Linked DNA regions of Homo sapiens: all the other regions are linked to region 2. Evidence: promoter capture Hi-C in 16 types of primary human blood cells and fetal thymus (Javierre and others, 2016). All regions are on one chromosome and are shown on one strand. The core of a region is centred on a gene start or on the middle of the fragment in contact, and the rest is flanking DNA. Distances in the headings are between cores, read along the strand shown.

Region 1 (3,045 bases), core at 173-2,672, 1.2 Mb after region 2:
CCTACTGCTTTTAGCTGTATCTGTTGCAACTTTGAGCAACTCAGTTTCTTCATTGGATAATATGAGGGCAGTGGATGAGGTCCACAGTGTCTCCCAGGGATATCGTTGTACAGTTCTATTTCCTCCAGGGCACATGTGAAATAAGTGAGGGATCTTTATGTAGACACAGCTTATCAGTCCCAAAACAGTGTCCCTCCTGTAGATCACACATTTTCTGATAATAACCTGAGGGGAAGAGGGGCAAGGTTGCCTGTTTCCTGACATCCTGCTTTGCATACCCAAGACACCTACTTTATTAAAAAGTTAACTTTGCTCCAAAAAAATTTTTCCCTAAGTTTTTCAAGATTGATTGTTTCCTGTTATTGTTGGAGGTTTGCTTTCTATGGTCATTTGGTAAATAAATAGCTTTATAGGGGAAAACAAATGGCCTTGTTTTGTTTTTCTACTCCAGGGTTTATGTGTTAAATTTCAGCTATGTCGTGTACTCACAGCTTAGTGCTTCAGACGGTTATGGGGAACTAGGAATTCTTAAAGGGGTAGGACAGGATGTCCTTTTCTATCGCTCAATGAGTCATGGAGGATGAATGCCGTTTCAGGGGTTCTGTAGTTGTGATTTCAGTCAAGTTCCAGTGGCTTTCAACCACTTCTCTAAATCTGAATGAAGAAGCAGCCACAGGGACTGTGTGAATTATGCTAAGATGCATTCCCGTTAAGTGCTGAAGTGGCCTTTGCAGTGAATCCTTAAACTTTACAATGCCAGCAACAGCCTATCCAGAGACAGGGCAGAACCCCGACATATACCCTCTTCCATGCCCACATAAGACATTTGCATTTATCTCCATTCTTATTGCATTGAGCATCTCTGTCTCCTGGTCAGCAACCTCTGTGTCTTTGGAAAGTCAGGCCTCACTCAGAGCATGCTCCCTTCTCAGGCATTGTGACAAGATTGTGTTTCGGTTCCAAAGGGTTAATCCCAAAGTGAATTCTTTGCATGTGTAATTCAATACTTCATAACTGCTGAAAATTGGAGTCCACATAATTTATTTTCTTTGGTCGGGCACATTTGCCTCATGCTTGGCCGGGGCTGACTTCAGAGAGACACACCTAAAACTCTCAAGTGTCCCAAGTGGCCCATGTCAGTTGTACAGAGAGATTGTGGTACTTGGACAGAGCCCAAGGATTAGGTGTTCCTGAGAAGGTTTTTTTGGCTCTACAAAGCCTTAGGATGTCATGGGAATAGGCTGCACTCCCTTTTCCCCCTTGAAGGCCACATATCAACGGGGTATCTAACCACTCAGAGACAGGCTCTACACAAAGGTATACATTAAAATAAATAGAACATGCAAGCAGAAAGAACTGAAAGAGAGGGAGGAATTGCTAAGTGGAGACAGGAAACAATTGCTTCATTGTTGAGGCAGTGATCTTAGAATTGCAGAGTACAGCCCCATCTACAGGACAGTTTGTAAAGTTGGAGCTTTTGGCTTAAAACACGAGACAGAACTTTACATGCAGTTTTTAATCCAGCTCACTTTGCATGGGCTTCACCTCACTGACAAAAATCCCACATTTTTACTTAAAAATAATTGTCCCTCTTTGATGAGAGGGATTCAGAGAGTGACAGAGAGATAAGAAGTGAGGAAGAACGCGGCTTAAGGGTGCTTTCATTTAGCTCCTTTTCTTATTTTGGCAGTAAATATTCTTGTCCTCGCAATACTCATTTAATCTCTTTCTTTGCTTTCCAACAACTTCCTCTCATTTGGTTTCCTCTCATTATTCCTTGATTTGGGAGGGGGCTTGTGTATTTTCACCATTCAAACAAAATAAAAAAGCTGTGCTTGTTTGAACACCATTTTTGTGCTGGCTGGCAAGCATGTGACTTTAAAGAAGGTTCAGGTTTTTAGGTTGAAAGGAGCTGAAAAACTTTAAAGTAATAATTAAAGCCAACTCTCTACGTGCACATTCCCTCCCCTCCCTTTATTTTAAAAACCTTGCCTGCCAACGCAGTGGCTGCTGTCTTAATGCTATTTCAACAGGAGACCTGGGTTTCAGGACAAGATCCAGGCCATAGGGGAGACTTGATGGCTCGGGGAATTAGTAATGGGATTTGGAGCCCTTCATTTCTAGGTCACTGGTTTGAATAGAGCCCAGGTCAGTAATGACTGAAAGTTGTTACCACCCGATGCCTGCTCTTCCTTAGCTGATCTGAGCTTGCCTGCCACTCCATCCCTGAGTGCCTGTGGCCCGTCTGCACTAATGGCATTCATTGACAAGTTGGCTAACTTAGGCCTTAAATGTGAGGCAGCCCAGTTTCTGCCATGTGCAAACACGGGGTCCACACTCTGCTGCAGCTGCTCTTCAGGGAATAATGCAGAGAGAGACAGAGTTACAAAGCTATTTTGCCTTTCTGATTACTCTGGGACCTAGCAAATCTATCTCCACTCACCTTAAGTCTCTGAGGCATTATATCTTCAGCCATTTAAAGGTAAGATCCAGGGAGAAGAAGGAACAGGCCTCAGAGGACCAAGTTTTCAAATACTCCAAATGTATGTATTCTGAGAAGACCGATTTAAAAGATCTGAATTAGGAGCTGCTGCTGCTGTTTCTAGTACCAGATAATCATGGCCCTTTTAAAATACCGCTTGCTGGACCCCAAACCTGTGCTTACAAAGTGTAGAAAGAAGGCAGATGTTTCCAGAACTTATATTAGGAAAGTGTTTGAAAAAATAATTACTGCTTTCTTTTTGTTTGTTTGTTTGTTTACAAGAGGAGAAATGCTTGCTGTAAAAGGATGGAGATAGAGAAGGAAGGACTGTGGAAACTCAAGAACAATGCACTACATTGGCAGTTCCTGCAACCTGCTACAGCCGGAGGCCAGTCTCTATGTGCAGAGACAAACTTGCTCTGGAGCTGTGGTTAAAGAGGGGGAGGAGCTGGAGTGGGGACTAGGTGCCTCCGGAAAGGATCTGAGGCCTTTCACACAGCTACCTGTCAGTCCCTGGGCCCGGGGCTGCAACCTACACATGCTTCACTCTGTCTCTCCAACCA
Region 2 (2,714 bases), core at 111-2,610:
TCCTCATCACTAAATCCTACAGAGTACAGGGCGGAAAACGGTGCACACCATTCACAGAACTGGAGAACTCCAAGGGGCGAAAGTTAAAGGGAAAGATCCCGGGTCCTCAATCCAGATAGTCTCTTCTTATACAGATATCTCTAATGACCAGATTTGAGATGCACATCAAATTGTGTAGGTATCTCAGTACAGCTTCTGGAACAAAGTTCTCTGCCCTTTCTCTTATTGTTATTTTTTTCTTTTTAGGTACCAGAGCCAGAAAAAAAAATGCTGCATGGGAGCTGCATCTTAGGGCATGTGTATTAGGGTGTGTGCATGATGAATTTCTGGACTGGATCCCAATATTAAAAAGTAGTTTGGCATTTTAATAAAGGGTCTCTAAGTAAATTAAAATAGAACACTCGGTTGGCCGATCTCTGAATCTCTCTACACCTCGGGGAGACCTCACTACAAAGTAAGGGAGAGTGTGTAGGGAGGCAGGAGGAGAAACGAGAAAGGCCATAGAGAAACTTAGCAGGGAAGGGAGAGCATGATATTAAACGGCATGGGGTCTAAGTTTTGGAGTATATATTTTTTGATATTACAATTAAAGTAAGATTAAAAAGAAAAGACTCCACCTTTGCTCTGAAGGGATTGGTTATGCAAATATGGAAGGGATTTCCTGGAGAATACAGCTTTCTACTGTATGGTTAATTAAATAATCACTCAAAAGCTTCCAACGTGACGCTTCTGTCGTAATCCAATCAGGTTACATAGGTCCTAAACAAGAAAGATATTTTCCACATCTGGAAGTCAGCAATTTAGCAAGTACTGCACATTATTAACCAATTCAGAGCCCACTTCCCAGGGGAATTTTTTTGAAGTTTAAGTGTTCTTAACCAATGCTCTGCTGTTTTGTTAATCAAAAAGCTGGTTTACACTGCACATAATTGGAACTAATATAGAAGTAAATAAAGACAGCCAAATTTGAGGATGCTGAGCACAGGCATTTATCGGAAAAGGAAGAAATCTCCTATCCTCGGATGGTTCAGGCTCAATTTCTTAAATAACTGTGAGACTTTTTTTTTTTTCCTAAAGAGTGAAAGTGCTTGAGAACCTCAGAGCACAAATAAACTTCTAGCCTCACAGCATTTAGGATTCTTCGGAAAGGTAAAGGTGGAGGTGTTAAGAGGACCAGAGAGCTGCCTCACACCAATTTTTAAGCTTTAATATTGTTAAATATGTTACACCCTCCTGTTTCCAGTCTGATGAAATCTGAAACAAATAATACCCTGATCCAACACTATATTAAGATAAACTGCTTTGAACTGTGCTTTGAATGTGTGCCTAAAGCAAGACTTTGAATGCAAGAGTCACTGGCAATTGCACTCAAAGGAGGGACAAGCCACCACATGGGTTGCCACATCCACACTCCCAGAGGTATACGTCTTTGTATTTTGTATTTTTTTTTGCGGGGCGGGGGAGTGGGGTGGGGGTGGTTAATAGCTACCTAGCACGACCACAGCTAGATCTTGTTCTAGGATGCAAGAAAGTAGATTTTCACAGTTGGTTACTCACCTCTTTCCTAATTTAAGTATTTATTATAATGAAAATAGCTGCTGGATAAATTAACTCTCTCCCCCCACCCCATCACAGATAAAGTGTCTATAGAAGAAAGGCATTCAGGATCTTCAGCTTAAAAATTATTAATAAATAAAATCAAAGATTTTCAACATGGGTCAGGCACATTCTTAATTTTATATTTTACATTTCTTTCATTATTATATATCTATACTAAATATATGTGTGACTTATCAAGTTCCTCTTCTGAGATTTAGCACCACTGTTCATGTCCATTTTTCTTCCTCTTCCTTTTTTTCCTCTTTTTTAATTTAAAAGATTGGAATCCAGCTTTCTCTAGACGTTTGCTTTACAGCCACCCTTCCACCACTCCTAAGGAAGAAGGAGCCCTTTGCATAGAGTTATTACAGGCAAGACTCCTCTTCAGGCACCCAGGTAGCCATTGGAGGCTTACAGACCAGACACACACACAAGCATAACCTCAGGTCAAAGGATCCAATCGAATAGCTAACAAAACACTTGTCTTTATTATGTATATTAAATGTCAGGTTACTTAGGATCTGACTTAAAAAAAAAAAAAAAAACCCTAAGTATTTCCATTAAAAACACCTAATCATCTGATTACCCTGGACTCAGGAATTGCTCAAGTGGCAGGAGGCAGTCCCCAACATTTATCACTGGGAGTTCCGACTAGCCAGTATTTGATTTGGGGTGAAAAAGCAGTCTTCCAGGTTCCCATGAAGGTAGATATTTGGATGGTGGCACGGGAAGGGTCTCCGCGAGGGGTGAGCGCTGCGGCTAGGTTGCCTTGCCCCTGGTTCCTGACTGGCACGCCCCTCCCCAGGCATTTGGCCGAGAGAGTTCCCAACGTGGCAGAGGTGATGGGGTCGGGAGGAAGCCGGAATATAAATTTGTTCCGAACACTCCCTCAGTCCGAGGGCCAGTTCGGGGACAATGGGGATCGTGGGATCAGGAGGATGCAGGAGCACAGGACGCAGAGAAAAGTCGAGAGAGGACTGGGGGCTGCTGGCTTTCGGCTCCTCACACAGCAAAATAAGTCCTGCAAATGAATCTCTCCTTCTCTGTCTTCCCCATTAATAATCCACTTCGAGATTAGCGCAGACGAAAGAGATTAAAACAACAGATACACGGAA
Region 3 (2,816 bases), core at 67-2,566, 1.1 Mb after region 2:
CTCACTGACAAACTGAATCAGGACTAGACTTTGGCCTCCTGAGACTCGAGACAATGTTCTTTCTATTATACTATCCACCGTGCTCCTTTCTTATAATACTAATTTTTTAAAAATACGCAGCATGGGAAGCTGCTTTAATGTTGGCCTCCCAGCTCCTCAAAACCATTCTCAGCAGGATTTACAGATCCTGGCCACATGTCTGCAAAAGGGCCTCTGAACACATACTTGAGATTTTCATGTGTTAGATAAACAGAGCTAAGCCCATCAAAATTAAGATTTTCTCATTCCCTCCCACTTCTGCTGATATTTTGGTCATAGTGGACATTAAAAATATTTTTCATGCCATAATCTCAAGTTTTCTAAAATTCTGATTGCTGTTCCTGTACCTCATATTCATTCTACTTCAAGTAATTATGCTTCTAGAAGGAAAGTATTCTCTTATTTACTGTAGATATGTCTCTATTTATAAAAAGCACCAGGGCCAGTATACACTCATCCTAATGTCCCGCATGCTCTACTCTCGACATCACACCAGCACCACAAGGAAATTGATTCTCCTGATAATGGTACATACAACAGTCAAGGTGAAAACTTGCTAGGGAAGGGTTCTAAATTCTTCAGAAGACTTCCATAGTAAAGTACATCCATGGTTTGCTCTCATTGCTGAAATATTAAAGCTTGTTGTCACCCTTTATTTTACAGAAGAAGCAGTTCTAGTTGATTCATCTGATTGGCTAAAAACAGGCACAGTCTAGAACACAGACTCCTGCATAAACTAGCTAGTGAAAGATACTTTGCGGAGAATTTTAAGGAACCGAAAGAAAAAGTGTTTGGAGATTAACATCAGAATTCAAATCCTACAGACTCCCTTTATTCTCTGAGCATTTCAATCCTTTCTTCTTAGGCCAGGCAAATTTACGCAGTGGCAAAACTTTCAGGTTCAGCAAAGAAAGCACCACTTTAGATTCAGCAAAGCACCCTTTGCCCTCAGGAATATCAGTCCCTATTTGCCAGAGCAAAACATGAATAGGAACACAATTTGCAGACCAAATCATTACATATTTTATTATTGTTGAGATATCCTCTGTAGAAAGCAAAATATGGCTTATATGAGATGTAACATTAAAATTTTATAATATTAAAATATTGTTATTTTCCTTCAGGGGGAACGTAATTGTTTCTGTCACTTGGAGAATAAAATTTTTGCAAATGGCATGCATTATCTTGTCATGGTCAACAACAATCAGTTATTTATCTGTACGTTTCTTAGATGCCTCCTTAAAATTGCATGCTGGCCATTTTCTTCCTTCTGCTCATCCCACAGGTTTACTGTTTACCACCCACACAAATGCTGATATGCAAGCCACATGTACAGACACACTTTTTGTTTTGCTTCTTCTTTTTTAATGTGTTAAGGCTGAGTAACAAGTAAGGATTTTGCCATGGAATGAAAACAAGGATTCAGCTTTCATGTAAATATCATTTATTTCCTTTTACCTGTGAACAAAATAATAAATAAGGCATGTCTTTTTTTCTTGCCATGCACAGATACTGTTCTATCTTGCTGTCTAAAGTCTAGGGAAAGCAGATACTACCACTGCATTCTTTTACAGGACTGATGCTGCTTATCAAATGTTTTCTGTAGAAGCAATCCAACTACTAAACAAGCAGAGATGAATCTCTGCTTTTTCTTGCAAGGCACCCAGGAGGCAAAAATTTGCAATAGTCCTAAATAAAAATATAATAAGAAAAGAAAATGAAAAGTTCTTTTGAAATGTATTTTTGGTTGTGAAATTAGAGTGAAAAATAGCATACTGGATGTTATTCAATTTCTCAAAATATTTCATATTCTAAACAGTGTCTCCCTTTATAAAAAGAGTTAATCTATTTAAACTAGTTTAGAGGTTTTTAAAAATAACAACAAAAACAACAACGAAAAGAAAATACACCACCAACAAGCTTTTCTATTCTTTTAGTAATAAAGACCTTTTACTTAGAATGGATTATGTATTAAACTTTTTCCACATCTTTGCTAGCTCAGCAAACCTTTGTTCTGAATGCTTTGTGACCATTGGTGCCTTTGATTATAGATTGCACCACCATTTGATTTATTTTTTTCTCATGGGCAACATATTTCTTTCATTGAGCAACATTCTGAAACTTGGAAATCTAACCTGTGTTTTAGTCTTAGGAAAGGAACATTCATATGGTAAATCCTCCCCAGTTGGACTTGGTATTCATTCAACTCTTATATGGTTGATTTCAGGCCAGCTTTAATTATGCAATCACCCTCAACTCAAAGAGGATAGTAGAATACAAAAGCACTTTCTAATGCTTGTATTTAATAGAGTGCCAGTTTTCTGGAAGAAGCAAAAAATTGAGAAATGTTAATATTTAACAATGAAGTAATAATCTCTAAATGCAAGTCTAGAGGACGACAAGAGCAATTTATTGTATAAATTACAGATCATTTAGGACTGAAATCCAGGTACACTCCCTTATGTGTCTCTGCCAGTATTAAGAAATATGTATATATGTGCATGTGTACATATTTTTTAATTCTTCTTTTTATCAAGAAGAAAAAAAAATCAGTCACTTGACCTGTTTTACGAATTATAAAAAAAATTAAATGTACCAGTATCACCTCTGAATTCATTGCTTTTTTTTTTTCATCCAGAAAATGTGGTTGCTTTAAACACAGTTTCCAGGGAAGTATTTTTTACACATTCTGAATTACTTGTTCAGTCATTTTCTTATATTACATTACTCACATCCCCTTGCTGGAGGAAATTCCCTCTTACAAATGCTGTATCACT
Region 4 (2,756 bases), core at 252-2,751, 1.2 Mb after region 2:
ATTATCCAAACACCAGGTGAAATATATGGTATAATTGTGAGCAATTGTTTAAGAAAATGGAATTCACTCAACTTGGTAAGCTTGAACCATGAATATTCTCCTTGGAGAAGAAAATGGATCTATAGCAATAGAAATATATTAGTATTTCTCACTACTTCACCCAACAAGGAACATCATATGGAGTGTCAAAATAATGTAAATGATACTTAGTGACTTTAACTTTTTGGTCAATTTTTGCACACAGCACAAATGGCCTGGTTATGTTTCAAGTAACATAACTTAAATGGTAAAATCATAATAAATTTGTTGACCAAGAAAGTAGAGTAAGTATGCTATCTGGTATAACCTTAATAAATATTTGGTAGTTTGGAAATATTTTATTATAATAGAAATATAACTCTTTTGTGAATGCTGTTATTCATACATATTTATATTAAAAGAAAAGTAAGCCAATAAAATTATAAGTAACTTTGACCTCTAGGCGTCTCAGTGGCGTAAAGATCACATAAGCAGTTAATAAAAGCATATATATAGCATGTAGTTTATATGATTAATTACCCTATACACTAAACTAGCATATATTATATGATGGACTTGTAAGGATTACAAATTCTATGATTGTATATATATTCATATATATACATATATGAATGACAATATTTTGGTTTACATTTTAATAAGCACCTTGTCACATTTAATCCTCAATCTATCCATGTTATAATGCTGGAAAGATTTTACATGTGAAATCTTGCTTTTCTATATATTGTAAATCAAAGAAAATTACTGAGGTGAGTCTCAATCATTTTAGAGGTTCATTTTACCAAGGTTGAAGATGCACCAAGGAAAACGTAACAAAAAATCACAGAAACATCTGTGATTCCTGCTTTTTCCAAAGAGGATTTAAGGACTTCAATATTTAAAGAGAAAAAAGGGGGGCAGTAGGGGAAAGAGGAAAGAAAAAATATGGGGAGGGTAGATAAAAGGAGCAAGTTGTTGCATTCTTTTAAGGTTTTGATCAGCCTTCACTGAAGCCACATATTACAAATGAAAGGAGGGGGTCGAGGAATAGTCAATTATGCTCAGTGAATTTGTAGTTTTACATAAGATAAAGTAAACATAGAGTGGAGGAAGCAGTCGAACATGCATTTGTCTCAGTTGAATGGAGTAATGACTCCTAGTCCTGTCCTTGTCCCATACCTGTGAAGATAAGTTGTTAATGTATATTGTCAGGGTAAAAGTCAACAGGACTGTTTCAGGGAATCTTGGGAACCACAAGAAATTATTTTTTGAACAAATTGTAAGGGAGGCCCCTTGGGGAAGTATGTAGCCTTTTATCTTTGTAGCTATCTATTTAGGAACAAAACGGGAGGCAGTTTTACTTTATTCGTTTCCCAAGCTTGACTATTCTCTTTGGCATAGTGAGTTTGGAGTTGTAAGATAATTATTTTCATTTCACAATGCATATGTAATATATCACTTACAGTACATCTTACATACTGTCTATGCTATAGTGGGAAGCACAGGACTTGGGATAATGCACACAGGATTTGGAATGAGATAACATTAGGTATGGATCCTGATTACACTGGCTTTTAACTCTATGAACTTAAGCTTACTTCACTTTTCTGAGTGTTATCTTTCACACCTGTAAAATAAGGATAATAGCACCTATCTTAAAGTTTCATTGTAAGAAATAGACTGGGTTTGGCTAATGAGAAGGTAAAATCAATCAATATCAAAAAGTAAAAGAAATAGAGAAAAATACAAAGTGCCGAAGTTTTAATACTTATTTTCTAAAAGGTGTCTATTGTTATTTTTATTAACAATGCATATTTGCATATTCTATTGACATCACAAAAATATGCTGAAGGTTATGTTGCTAATGGTTTTACTTTTAATTTTTTAGTATTCATGTTATTCTGAAATAGCATAAAGCATATGAATAATAAATTTACTAAGACTATCATTTACGAATCCTAATTTTATAAATGAAACACGTCACCATCTACACAATCTAAGAATTTTAATGTGATTATTAAACTAGGGTTTGATGAGATCACCGCAACTCATCTCACAAAAAACTCAGAGACAAAGCTAAAAATAAGTCCTGATAATAAACTAGTGTTGCCTCTGACTAGCAATAAGAATCGGGAGTCAAGCAAAGCCCAAGACATTTCGTCAATACTAAGTAATAGTTTGTACAAATATAATATTATTAAAGCTTTAGACCTCTTAGAGTTGATCGTGTTAATTTCTACTACTTTCTGTATCCTATTTCCTGAAACAAAGCAACAAAACATATGCCTCCCATTTTTTTCTAATTTAAGACACAAAGTGGAAGAACTTGCAAATGAGTTACTGCTACCCAATTTTCTTATGGATAATTGTCAGTCACAAGAGATTGGTAGAGATAAACGGATCCTGATTTCCCAGCAATGTGAAGCTCCATGTTTCCATGTAGTATTGGGGAAGAGAGCATATGAATCATGCAAGTGGCAGCATCATTGGAGGCTCTCATGACAGTGTGGATCTGAAAACTGAATTATTAACATTGTTGCAAATGTCAGTTGTCAGATTCTCAAGGTAATCTGAGAATTTATTCCTGTATTTTTTCTATATCTGCCATTGCCACAAGGGTCATAGGTGCTGCATTGTTTAAGTATTCATCATGAGAGTTGCTATTCTTTGATGGCTTTGGAAAGAGAACATGGCCATTGTATCTCAATGCAAGCCACTTGGTATGTAGAATAGTCTGT

The links. The method cuts DNA at HindIII sites, captures the fragments that hold promoters and counts their contacts. A CHiCAGO score of 5 or more calls a contact.
Region 1: a fragment that was not itself captured here is called in contact with the fragment with the promoter of LINC01412 in region 2 in 5 of 17 cell types (M1 macrophages, M0 macrophages, megakaryocytes and 2 more); the score reaches 14.4 in M1 macrophages.
Region 3: a fragment that was not itself captured here is called in contact with the fragment with the promoter of LINC01412 in region 2 in 3 of 17 cell types (M1 macrophages, M0 macrophages and M2 macrophages); the score reaches 12.2 in M1 macrophages.
Region 4: a fragment that was not itself captured here is called in contact with the fragment with the promoter of LINC01412 in region 2 in 2 of 17 cell types (M1 macrophages and erythroblasts); the score reaches 6.2 in M1 macrophages.

What each region holds. Positions count from the first base shown.
Region 1 is chr2:145,751,224-145,754,268 of GRCh38, forward strand. No RefSeq gene overlaps it. Among named protein-coding and RNA genes, the nearest start is that of LINC01966, 870 kb to the left of the region's middle. RefSeq lists an enhancer at 812-861. The HindIII fragment of the contact is 6,682 bases long and covers 1-3,045 here.
Region 2 is chr2:144,520,508-144,523,221 of GRCh38, forward strand. LINC01412 (long intergenic non-protein coding RNA 1412) reads left to right here and starts at 1,361. Exons shown (of 3, transcript NR_110570.1): 1 at 1,361-1,419. ZEB2-AS1 (ZEB2 antisense RNA 1) reads left to right here. Exons shown (of 4, transcript NR_040248.2): 4 at 247-392. The HindIII fragment of the contact is 4,746 bases long and covers 1,202-2,714 here.
Region 3 is chr2:145,595,834-145,598,649 of GRCh38, forward strand. No RefSeq gene overlaps it. Among named protein-coding and RNA genes, the nearest start is that of LINC01966, 720 kb to the left of the region's middle. The HindIII fragment of the contact is 1,282 bases long and covers 676-1,957 here.
Region 4 is chr2:145,734,477-145,737,232 of GRCh38, forward strand. No RefSeq gene overlaps it. Among named protein-coding and RNA genes, the nearest start is that of LINC01966, 850 kb to the left of the region's middle. The HindIII fragment of the contact is 215 bases long and covers 1,395-1,609 here.